2 separate regions of the Homo sapiens genome follow, and region 1 is linked to region 2. Evidence: promoter capture Hi-C in human tissues and cell types (Jung and others, 2019). All regions are on one chromosome and are shown on one strand. The core of a region is centred on a gene start or on the middle of the fragment in contact, and the rest is flanking DNA. Distances in the headings are between cores, read along the strand shown. Region 1 overlaps GDPGP1 (GDP-D-glucose phosphorylase 1). Region 2 holds the start of IQGAP1 (IQ motif containing GTPase activating protein 1).

Evidence for each region. Contacts are between HindIII fragments. The study calls those that stand out against the background at their distance.
Region 1: a fragment that was not itself captured here is called in contact with the fragment with the promoter of IQGAP1 in region 2 in 1 of the 25 tissues and cell types used here (dorsolateral prefrontal cortex).

The regions. Positions count from the first base shown.
Region 1 is chr15:90,239,752-90,245,475 of GRCh38, forward strand. GDPGP1 (GDP-D-glucose phosphorylase 1) reads left to right here. Exons shown (of 4, transcript NM_001013657.3): 4 at 1,149-5,724. The coding sequence starts at 1,158. The coding sequence ends at 2,315. It also overlaps a transcript of CIB1 not described here. Among named protein-coding and RNA genes, the nearest start is that of TTLL13, 6.9 kb to the right of the region's middle. The HindIII fragment of the contact is 7,306 bases long and covers 1-4,903 here.
Region 2 is chr15:90,385,832-90,391,001 of GRCh38, forward strand. It overlaps IQGAP1 (IQ motif containing GTPase activating protein 1), which reads left to right and starts at 2,411. Exons shown (of 38, transcript NM_003870.4): 1 at 2,411-2,565; 2 at 4,943-5,042. The coding sequence starts at 2,511. It also overlaps the pseudogene NDUFA3P4. RefSeq lists a silencer at 2,135-2,914. The HindIII fragment of the contact is 9,768 bases long and covers 1-5,170 here.

The sequences.
Region 1 (5,724 bases), core at 1-2,500, 150 kb before region 2:
AGGCTGGACTGCAATGGTGCGATCTCGGCAGTGCCTGGTGGCACATGCCTGTAGTTCCAGATACTTGGGATGCTGAGGTGAAAGAATCCCTTGAGCCTGGGAGGTCAAGGCTTCAGGGAGACATGTATGCACCACTGCACTCCTGCCTGGGTGACAGAGTGAGAACCTGTTTCAAAATAAAATAGGCCGTGGCTGGGCGCAGTGGCTCACACCTGTAATCCCAGCACTTTGGGAAGCCGAGGTGGGTGGATCACCTGAGGTCAGGAGTTCAAGACCAGCCAGACCAACATGGTGAAACCCTGTCTCTACCAAAAATACAAAATTAGCTGGCTGTGGTGGCACATTCCTATAATCCCAGCTACTTGGGAGGCTGAGGCCAGAGAATCGCTTGAACCTGGGAGGTAGAGGTTGCAGTGAGCCAAGATAGCGCCATTGCACTCCAGCCTGGGTGACAGAGTGATAAATAAATAAATAGGCCAGGTGCAGTGGCTCAGGCCTGTAATCCCAGCACTTTGGGAAGCCGAGAGGGGAGGGTCACCGGAGGTCAGGAGTTCAAGACCGGCCTGGCCAATGTGGTGAAACCCTGCCTCTACTAAAAATACAAAAATTAGCCGGGCCTGGTGGCGGGTGCCTGTAATTCCAGCTGCTTGGGAGGCTGAGGCATGAGAATCACTTGAACCCAGGAGGTGGAGGTTGCAGTGAGCCAAGATCGCGCCACTGCCCTCTAGCCTGGGCAACAGAGTGAGACTCTGTCTCAAAAAAATAAAAATAAATAAATAAGCTGTGCATGTTGGTTCATGCCTGTAATCCCAGCACTTTGGGAGGCCAAGGCAAAGGGATCACCCGATGTCAGGAGTTCAAGACCAGCCTGGCCAACATGGTGAAACACCATCTCTACTAAAAATACAAAAATTACCCGGGCATGGTGGTGCCTGCCTGTAACCCCAGCTGCCCAGGAGGCTGAGGCGGGAGAACCGCTTGAACCCAGGAGGCGGAGGTTACAGTGAACCAAGATCACTGCCACTGCACTCCAGCCTGGGTGACAGAGTGAGACTCCATCTCAAAAAAAAAAATAAATAAATAAATACAATGACAATCTCTGGAGGTGGGTTACCATCATGTGTTTTCATCTTTTATGACTATTTCAGGTCAGCTCTATGGCTCTTCCACATGATTCAAACGAAACTTCCTATTTGCTGCCTCCCAACAATGAGGACTGGGGCAGGCAAACCATTCCTGACTTTGTTTATGGGCAGAAGGATCTCATGGCAGAAGGGATTCAGTGGCCAAGGAATGCACCTGGCATCCCAGATGCTCTGCCACAATCTCCCTTTGATGCTGCACTCTGCTCTGCCTGGAAGCAGCGGGTGGAGCTGGGGCTGTTTCGCTACCGTCTACGGGAGCTACAGACCCAAATCCTCCCTGGTGCTGTGGGTTTCGTGGCTCAGCTGAATGTGGAGCGTGGTGTGCAGAGGAGGCCCCCGCAGACCATCAAGAGTGTGAGGCAGGCATTTGACCCTGTACAGTTCAACTTCAACAAGATCCGGCCCGGAGAAGTCCTCTTCCGTTTGCACCGGGAGCCTGATCTCCCTGGGACTCTGCTGCAAGAAGACATCCTGGTGGTGATCAACGTCAGCCCCCTGGAGTGGGGCCACGTGCTGCTGGTGCCTGAGCCTGCCCGCCAGCTCCCCCAGCGCCTGCTGCCGGGTGCACTGAGGGCAGGGATTGAGGCTGTGCTGCTGAGCTTACACCCGGGCTTCCGTGTCGGCTTCAACAGCCTGGGAGGCTTGGCCTCGGTGAACCACCTCCACCTGCATGGCTATTACCTGGCCCACAGACTGCCCGTGGAGCAGGCGCCAAGCGAGCCCCTGGACCCTGGAGGCCATTTGCATCTGCTCCAGGACCTCCCAGCTCCTGGCTTCCTCTTTTACACTCGTGGGCCAGGGCCTGACTTGGAGTCCTTGATAAGCAGGGTATGTCGGGCCACTGATTATCTGACTGACCATGAGATTGCTCATAACTTGTTTGTCACCCGGGGAGCTCCGCCGGGAAAGACATCACCTTCCTCAGCCCTCACAGGGGTCCGAGTAATTCTGTGGGCCCGGAAGTCCAGCTTTGGGATAAAGGACGGTGAAGCTTTCAATGTTGCCCTCTGTGAGCTGGCTGGGCACCTCCCTGTCAAAACATCCCAGGACTTCAGCAGCCTGACAGAGGCAGCTGCTGTGGCCCTCATTCAGGACTGTCGGCTGCCCCCATCCCAGGCAGAAGACGTACAGGCAGCACTGGTGGCCCTGATGTCCCAGGAAGAGCAATAATACTTCTGGATGTATTTATGTTCTTTTTTTCTTTTCTTTTGAGATAGGGTCTCACTCTGTCCCCAGGCTAGAGTGTAGTGGTATGATCCTGGCTCACTGTAGCCTCCACCTCTGGGGCTGAAGTGATCCTCCCACCTCAGCCTCTTGAGTAGCTGAGACTATAGGCGTGCACCACCACACACCTGGCTTTTTTTTTTTTTTTTTTTTTTTTTAACGATTAGGTGATTTTGTATTTTTTTATATAGACAGCGTTTCACCATGTTGCCCAGGCTGGTCTTGAACTCTTGGGCTGAAGCAGTCCTCCCACCTCGGCCTCCCAAAGTACTGAGATGACAGGAGTGAGCCCCTGGATTCTTTTCTGTTTCTTTTTTTTTTTTTTTTTTTTTTTTTTTTTTTGAGATAGTCTCGCTCTGTCACCTAGGTTGGGGTGCACTGGTACAATCTCGGCTCACTGCAACCTCCACCTCTAGGGTTCGAGTGATCCTCCTGGCTCAGCCTCCCGAGTAGCTGGGACTATACAGGCTCCTGCCACCAAACCCGGCTAATTTTTTTGTATTTTTAAAAGAGAAGGGGTTTCACCACATTGGCTAGGCTGGTCTTGAACTCCTGACTTTAGGTGATCCGCCCGCCTCGGCCTCCCAAAGTGCTGGGATTACAGGCGTGAGCCACCACACCCAGCCAGGATGTATTCATTTTCTACCTGATGAGTCCCTTTCCAGAGCACTGTCCATCATAGTCCTTTGGACATTTATTTTCATGGCTGCCTTCTCACCTGTCTCAGCCTAAGAAGAAGGATGAAGAAAGCTGATAATGATCTCTTAAAGGGGAGAAAGATAATGGTCTCTTTAAAGGGGAGCTGATAGTGGTCTCTTTAAAGGGGAGAAAATCTGGAATAATTCTACTGAGTAAGACATCATGAATGTATCTGCTACCTCTCCCCGTTCTTGTTCAAGCCCCAGGGGTGTTAAAAAGGAGTGTGTGTGACAGTTACACACTCCTGACTTTACATTTAGATTTTGTCTTCCTTTGATATCAAATGTTAGCACGGTAATAGTGCCTGTGCCTCCAGTATTGAGCTGCCACTTCTGTTCTCAGCCTGTTTATTCCCCTTTGCTCACCACTTATTTTTATTGCTTTGTCCCTTCTTTCCATTTAGCCCTGCTCCACCCAAATGCCCCACTCCTTCACTTTCCCTGCCACCTTGAGCTTTCCTCTAGCCCCCAACACCAAGTTGAATGCTCTTCACTGACATCATCTGATGTAAAAACACAGTGTTGTCACAACTTTCCGGGTGCACGTCTTTTTTTGTTTTGTTTTTTTGTAAGGCTGGGGTGCAGTGGTGCAATCACAGCTCACTGCAGACCCAAACTCTTGGTCTCAAGCCACCCTCCCACCTCAGCCCCCTGAGTAGCTGGGACGATAGGTGTGCACCATCACACCTGGCTAATTTTTAAATTTTTTGTAGAGATAGGGTCTTGCTATGTTGCCCGGGTTGCTGTCAAACTCCTGGCCTTAAGAAATCCTCCCACCTCGGCCTCCCAGAGTGCTAAGATGCCACCACACCTTGGTGCAGGTTTTTTTTTTTTTTTTTTTTTTTTTTTTTTGACACAGGGTCACTGTCACCCAGGCTGGAGTGCAGTGGTATGAAGACAGCTAACTGCAAGCTTCAACCTCCTGGGCTCAAACAATACTCCCATCTCAGCCTCCCTAGTAGCTGGGACCACAGGCATGCGCCACCACACCCGGCTATTTTTTTGGAGAGATAGCATCTTGCCAAGTTGCCCAGGCTGGTCTCGAACTCCTGGCCTCAAGATCCTCCCACCTCAGCCTCCCAAAGTGCTGAGATTATAGGCATGAGCCACTGCACCTGGCCTGAGTTTTTTTTTTTTTTTCTTGAATCAGAGTTTCACTCTGTTGCCCAGGCTGGAGTGCAGTGGTGTGATCTCGGCTCACTGCGTCTCTGCCTCCTGGGTTCAAGCAATTCAGCCTGAGTCTTCTTAATACCCCCATTCAAAACGGGATGGAGACTGACAGTTTGTACTTTGTTCAAGGTCAGGCAGCTGGAGTCGGGACTGCAGCACAGGCAGGTACCAGAAGATGAGCTGGGACAATGTGTGCTTGTGACCGCCTCTCCAGTCAGTGGTTCCCATGGTGGGTAGCACTGTCCTTAACAGTTTGCCCTCCCTGAGCCTCAGCCATCCCTCTTGGGGTCTTTCCCAAGCACTTTAGAAGCTCCTCTTGATGTAGACACAAAATCCAAAGCTAAGTCGTTGTTCCTCCGTCTGCATCTGAGTCAATGTGGGAAATTTTTTTTTATCTCATTGCTTTGTTCTGTCCTGTTTCTCCAGACATTTCACACTGGTTCCAGAGGAACTAGTCAGTAGACACTATTCTAAGAGAGTATGTGGGTGTGAAATCTCATTTTCCTTTTAGCTCCCTTGAATGTTATACAGCAAAAGTAAAAGAAGTCTTGGGTTGGCTGGGCACGTTGGCTCACACCTTTAATCCTAGCACTTTGGGAAGCCGAGGCAGGCAAATCACTTGTCAGGAGTTCGAGACCAGCCTGGCCAACATGGTGAAACCCCATCTCTACTAAAAATACAAAAATTAGGCGTTGTGGCGGCCACCTGTAATCCCATCTACTTGGGAGGCTGAGGCAGGAGAATCACTTGAACCCAGGAGGCGGAGGTTGCAGTGAGCTGAGATTGCACGACTGTACTCCAGCCTGGGCGATAGTGCGAGACTCAGTCTCAAAATAAATAAATACATAAAGTCTTGGGTCCAGCTCTCAACAGAGATTATCACCGCCACCACTCCTTCATCAAACATCCTGAAGGAATGAGAGTCCCTGTTCACAGCGTAAGGGTGAAAGGGGGCTCACACAGGTGGGTTCTGGCTGCTGTCTGAGTGGGCTCACCCAGGAGGGGTTTTGATTTCTCTGCCTCCCAAACTGTGGGTCCTAGCCCTGGCTTAGGCCTTCAGGTCGTTGGCTCCCTATACCTAGGCCTGTATAAAGCCTTAGTTTCCAGTTTTCATTAGAGGTTTTACATCCCAAATGATGTTACAAAGTCTCCCTGTGATAAAGCAGAATATGTGTCCATAGCCCATTTTATAAGAAAAACAGTTTAGGCCAGGTGCGGTGGCTCACGCCTGTAATCCCAGCACTTTGGGAGGCTGAAGCAGGCAGATCACAAGGTCAGGAGTTCAAGACCAGCCTGGCCAACATGGTGAAACCCCGTCTCTACTAAAAACACAAAAATTAGCTGGGTGTGGGTGCACATCTATAGTCCCAGCTACTCAGGAGGCTGAGGCAGGAGAATCGCTTGGACCTGGGAGGCGGAGGTGGCAGTGAGCCGAGATCGCGCCACTGCACTCCAGCCTGGGCGGCAGAGAGAGACTTTGTCTCAAA
Region 2 (5,170 bases), core at 1,161-3,660:
CCTTTCTCAAGAATGCCTGGCCTAAGGAGCGGGTGCTGGTCCTGTTCCTCACCATCGGGGGCCTAGCTATAAATCTGACCCCAGTCTGCCCCTATACCATGTACTCCACCAGGATCAACTAGGCCACGCCCCACAACAACCCAGTGCCCCTCCGAGATGATGGGAACATGCTGGACATGCCCAGCCACCCCCAAGGCCCAAGCATGGAGTGGTTGAAGAAACTGCAAGCACTTCCATTGACATGGAGAAGACCATGTCCCCTGTGGCCCCCAATAAAAATGTGACCCCCCCGCCTCCGAAATAAATAAATCATTCAGTTTCTGAAAAGTGTTTGGTAAAATGTGCTAGACTTATAAATAGAATAATACAATTTGTAAAGTGAACTTAAAAGCTTAAGAATGAAATAACTTTTTACTTTGTAGGCTTAATAAATGAAACCCTTGCCCACTTTTCTACAGGGGTGTTTTGTTCTTACAGGTTTTCAAGTATCTTTAATAGTCTGAAGGAAGAGTGAATACATTGAAAATAGCTGGAGCAAAACATCTGGAGTCAGGCTATGATTTGGCATGCTAAATCATGCTGAACTTGGCCCATTATCTTGAAGGGAGGAATAGAAAAAAAAATTTAAAAAGAGAAACACAATTGCATTTGCACTTTAGAGAGAACACCCTGATAACTGTGAGGATCTAGTTGGCAGAAGGGCGACTACAGTGTAATCACAACAGGGATGGAGACAAAAGTAGACATCTCAGAAATAAACACAGATTGGATGTAGGGTGCGAGGCAAGGAGCCTGGGGTGTTCCCACTGGGAATTGAGTACTTCTGTGAATAGAGAATATAGCAGGAGCAGGGTCAGTATTTGACACGTGGGATTTGAAGTGTCTGCCCTATACACAGGTGAAAGTGTTCATTAGCTGAAAATACTGAGGGACTTCCAGACGATCTGGTCTGGTGATACATATCGAGGGGTCCTCAGCAGTTATAGGCGAGTGTAGAAAAGATTACTGAGTAGGCAAAGAATAAACGGAAGAGGGCCGGGCGCGGTGGCTCACACCTGTAATCTCAGCACTTTGGGAAGCAGAAGCGGGTGGATTACCTGAGGTCAGGAGTTCGAGACCAGCCTGATCAACATGGTGAAACCCTGCCTCTACTAAAAATACAAAAAAAGTAGTTGGGCGTGGTGGCGGGCACCTATAATCCCAGCTACTTGGGAGGCTGAGGCGGGAGAGTCGCTTGAACCCGGGAGGCGGAGGTTGCAGTGAGCCGAGATCGCGCCACTGCACTCCAGCCTGAACGACTGAGCAAAACTCCGTCTCAAAAAAAAAAAAAAAAAAAAAATGCCGGGCGCGGTGGCTCACGCCTGTAATCCCAGCACTGTGGGAGGCCGAGGCGGGTGGATCACGAGGTCAGGAGATCGAGACCATCCTGGCTAACACGGTGAAACCCCGTCTCTACTAAAAATACAAAAACTTAGCCGGGCGCGGTGGCGGGTGCCTGTAGACTCAGCTACTCGGGAGGCTGAGGCAGGAGAATGGCGCGAACCCGGGAGGCGGAGCTTGCAGTGAGCCCGGATCGCGCCACTGCACTCCAGCCTGGGCGACAGAGCGAGACTCCGTCTCAAAAAAAAAAGAAAATAAAAAAAAAGAAAGAAAGAAAAGAAAAAAGAATAAACAGAAGAGGGCTGCGGACAGAATACCGTTGAATACCAATATCTGAAGGGCAAGCCACAAGGTGCAGGGGGCAGAGGCATCCCTGATACGGGAAAAGAGTTATTTTAAAAAGAACTTGCAAAGAACAATGTCAAGGGATCCAAAGGTAGGGAATTTGGACAGAGTTCGGCTTTAGCATCCGCATCTCAAATACCTGGGTACCTGGGTAATCTGGTGACTGCTGCCGAATCTAAGAGGACTGAGGCCAGGTTGCCAAACTGCGGAGAGTGGGGTTGGAGGGCTTTCATGGCAGTTTGGGGCCTGCTTGTGTCCAACAAGACAACCTGGGTCACCTCAAAGGGTGTCTTCTCCAAATATTGGTGCAGAGGTTAGCTGGGCCGGCAAGAGAAGGGAGATGACCCACTATTTTGATTTCAGGCAGCAGACACCGGCAGCCTTTCGGTTAGAGTTGCGGATAGGGCAGTGGCCTTGGGGGCGGGGCTATAAACCTGGGCGGGCATTCCCGGCAGGGCAAGCTCAGCGTGAGCCCGATTGGAGGATGGGCTCTACCTTCTTCCTTCCGCCTACGGAGACCATAGCGGGATGCAGGGCGGGGCCGGGCTGAGGGGGCGGAGTTAGGGGCGGGGCACGGTGACTCTGGCCCCGCCTCTTTCCGGCCGCTCAGGGCGGTGTCGCTGGGGCGGTGCCGCTGGGGCGGGGCCTGCGGGGTGGGGCTGACGGCACGGGGCGGGGCCTCGGGGACCCCGGCAAGCCCGCGCACTTGGCAGGAGCTGTAGCTACCGCCGTCCGCGCCTCCAAGGTTTCACGGCTTCCTCAGCAGAGACTCGGGCTCGTCCGCCATGTCCGCCGCAGACGAGGTTGACGGGCTGGGCGTGGCCCGGCCGCACTATGGCTGTGAGTGCGGGGCTCCGCGGCGCGGGGGCTTCGGGCTGGGCTAATTGCAGACGAGGCGCGATTTTCCTGGGGGCTCGGCCGGGCGGGTGGGGCAGGGCGGCTGCCGGCAGCTCGGACCCGGAAGAGCCGTCCCGGTGGGGCGGCGGGCGGCGGGCGGGGAGGCCCCTGGTTCGCGCCCCCTCGGGGTCCGAGGCGGCGGAGAGGACCCCCGAGGCCTCCCGCCTTAGCTGGGGCCGCGGTAGGGGGAGCCCCACCCAGCGCCTCTCGCCGCCCAGGCTCGGCCGAGATTGGGGAAGACGGCCTAGAGTGAGGTGGCAGGATGACCGCGCAGGGCGTGTCCCGGGGATTGGGGGTCTGGGTACGCGGGCTCTGCCCGTTTCGTGGAAAGGCGCTGCCCTAGTGTTGCCTGCGGGGTAGACCCAAGGGATAGACCAGGGTCCAGACCTGTCCGGTCCCAGGCTAGCTACGAGGTGCCGTCCTGGGCAAGTCACTTCAGTTTTCTCGGGCTTAGTTCCCTCCTCAAGATTTCAAAAGTAAAATAGTAATAAAGAAAAAAAAAAGAAGCAGAAAATCCTCTGACTTCCTCATTTTCTGTTGTCGGCCCTGGACGTCATTGAACTGCAGGCAGGATTGGCTAAAGGAGGACCCTTTGGGATTTTGAGGTTTTCGGTTTTATTTTATATTGTGGGAATAATGTTCTTTTTTAAAGGATCAACATTTCACGCATCAACAGTTATACGTGAGGTATTGTGCCACGTTTGTGAAATTAAAGATGAGTAAGATCAGGCCCTGTCTCCAAAGAGCGTTTTAATCAGAGAGTCAGGTGTGCAAGCTAATGATTATAAGGTGCAATAATGATAAAAGATGCTGAACTTACTAGCCATACAGAGTAATGTAGGTAAGGAGAAGGGGCCTGGGGAAGACAGTATGAGCACGGGAGGTGACTTTTTTTTTTTTTTTTTTGGAGACAGGGGGTCTTGCTCTGGTCGCCCAGCCTGGAGTTCAGTGGTGCAATCTCAGCTCACTGCAAACTCCACCTCCCAGGTTCAAGCGATTCTCCTGCAGTCTCCCGAGTACAGGCGTCGGCCACCACACTGGCTAATTTTTGTATTTTTAGTAGAGACAGGGTTTCACTGTGTTGGTCAGGCTGGTCTCAAACTCCTGATCTCAAATGATCCCCACGCCTCGACCTCCCAAAGTGTGAGCCACTGCACCTGGCCTGAAGGTGACATTTGAACAGAGCCTTGAAGAATGCTGTGTAGAAAGTTTGACAGGTGGCCAGGCATAGTGACTCCTGCGTGTAATCCCAGCACTTTGGGAGTCCGAGGTGAGAGGATAGTTTGAGGCCTTGAGTTTGAGACCAGCCTGGGCAGCACAGTGAGACTCCATCTCTTAAAAAAAAAAAAAAAAATTAGCCAGGCGTGGTGGCCCATGCCTGTGGTCCCAGCTGCTTGGGGCTGAGGTAGGAGGATCATTTGAGCCCAGAAAGTCGAGGCTGCAGTAAGCCATGATTGTGCCACTGCACTCGAGCCGGAGTGACAGAACAAGACCCTGTCTCAAAAAAAAAAAAAAAAAAGTTTGATAGGGCATGTGGAACAAGAGACAGGACCTGAGGGAAGAGCATAAACAAAGGTATTGAAAGTAGAGGGATACTGTGTTGGGAACTGAGTGATGTAGACTGCACAGTGGTGGGAGGAAGGGAAGAGGAGAGTTTCCAAAAATAGTTGGGACCAGACTGGGAAAGGCCTTGAATGCCTTCCCAAGGAGTTAGGAATTTATTCCACACCTGGTGCCCATGAAGGAAGCAGATTGCTTCAAGGTTAAGCTCAGGCTTTGGAGACAGACTCTCCAGGTTTGGATTCAGGCCCTGTCACTTATTTGCCATGGGGCTGAGTTCACCCAGCCTCAGTTTCTTCGTCTGTAAAATAGGAGTGATAATCACAGGATTGTTGTGGGGTTTCAATGAGAGAATGCGTGTAAAATGCTTCGTACAATTACTGCCACTTATGTCTCAATAACTGCTGGCTTTGGTCATTAATAAAAGAGGGAAACAATATTATCAGATCTGTATTTAGAAGGAGTTCTGGCAGATAGGGACAGATTTGTGCCAAAATCTCAAGACAGTATTTTTCAAGATTACACTGAAACTTAGTACATATTTATATTATCATACATTTTTAAAAAGGTCAAGATGATTATAGTTGAAACCACATAGTTCTTTTTTTAAGAAAGTCATTGTAGTACACCTGGCTGGCTACACACTCATTAGTTATCCTGACTTTCTAGGTGAGTGGCAGGAAATTGATTCTGTGGCAATCTTTTATCACTCAGGAAGGCTACAGATCCTGGTGTTTACATTCTTTCTTTTATGTTGTAGCTGTCCTGGATAATGAAAGACTTACTGCAGAGGAGATGGATGAAAGGAGACGTCAGAACGTGGCTTATGAGTACCTTTGTCATTTGGAAGAAGCGAAGAGGTAAAGATTGGCTGGCTGGAGAGAAGATTAAGAGAAGGGAACTGATAATAGTGTGAATACAAATAAAGATTGCTTTGAGGCTGAACACAGTGGTCCATGCCTGTAATCCCAACACGTTGGGAGGCCGA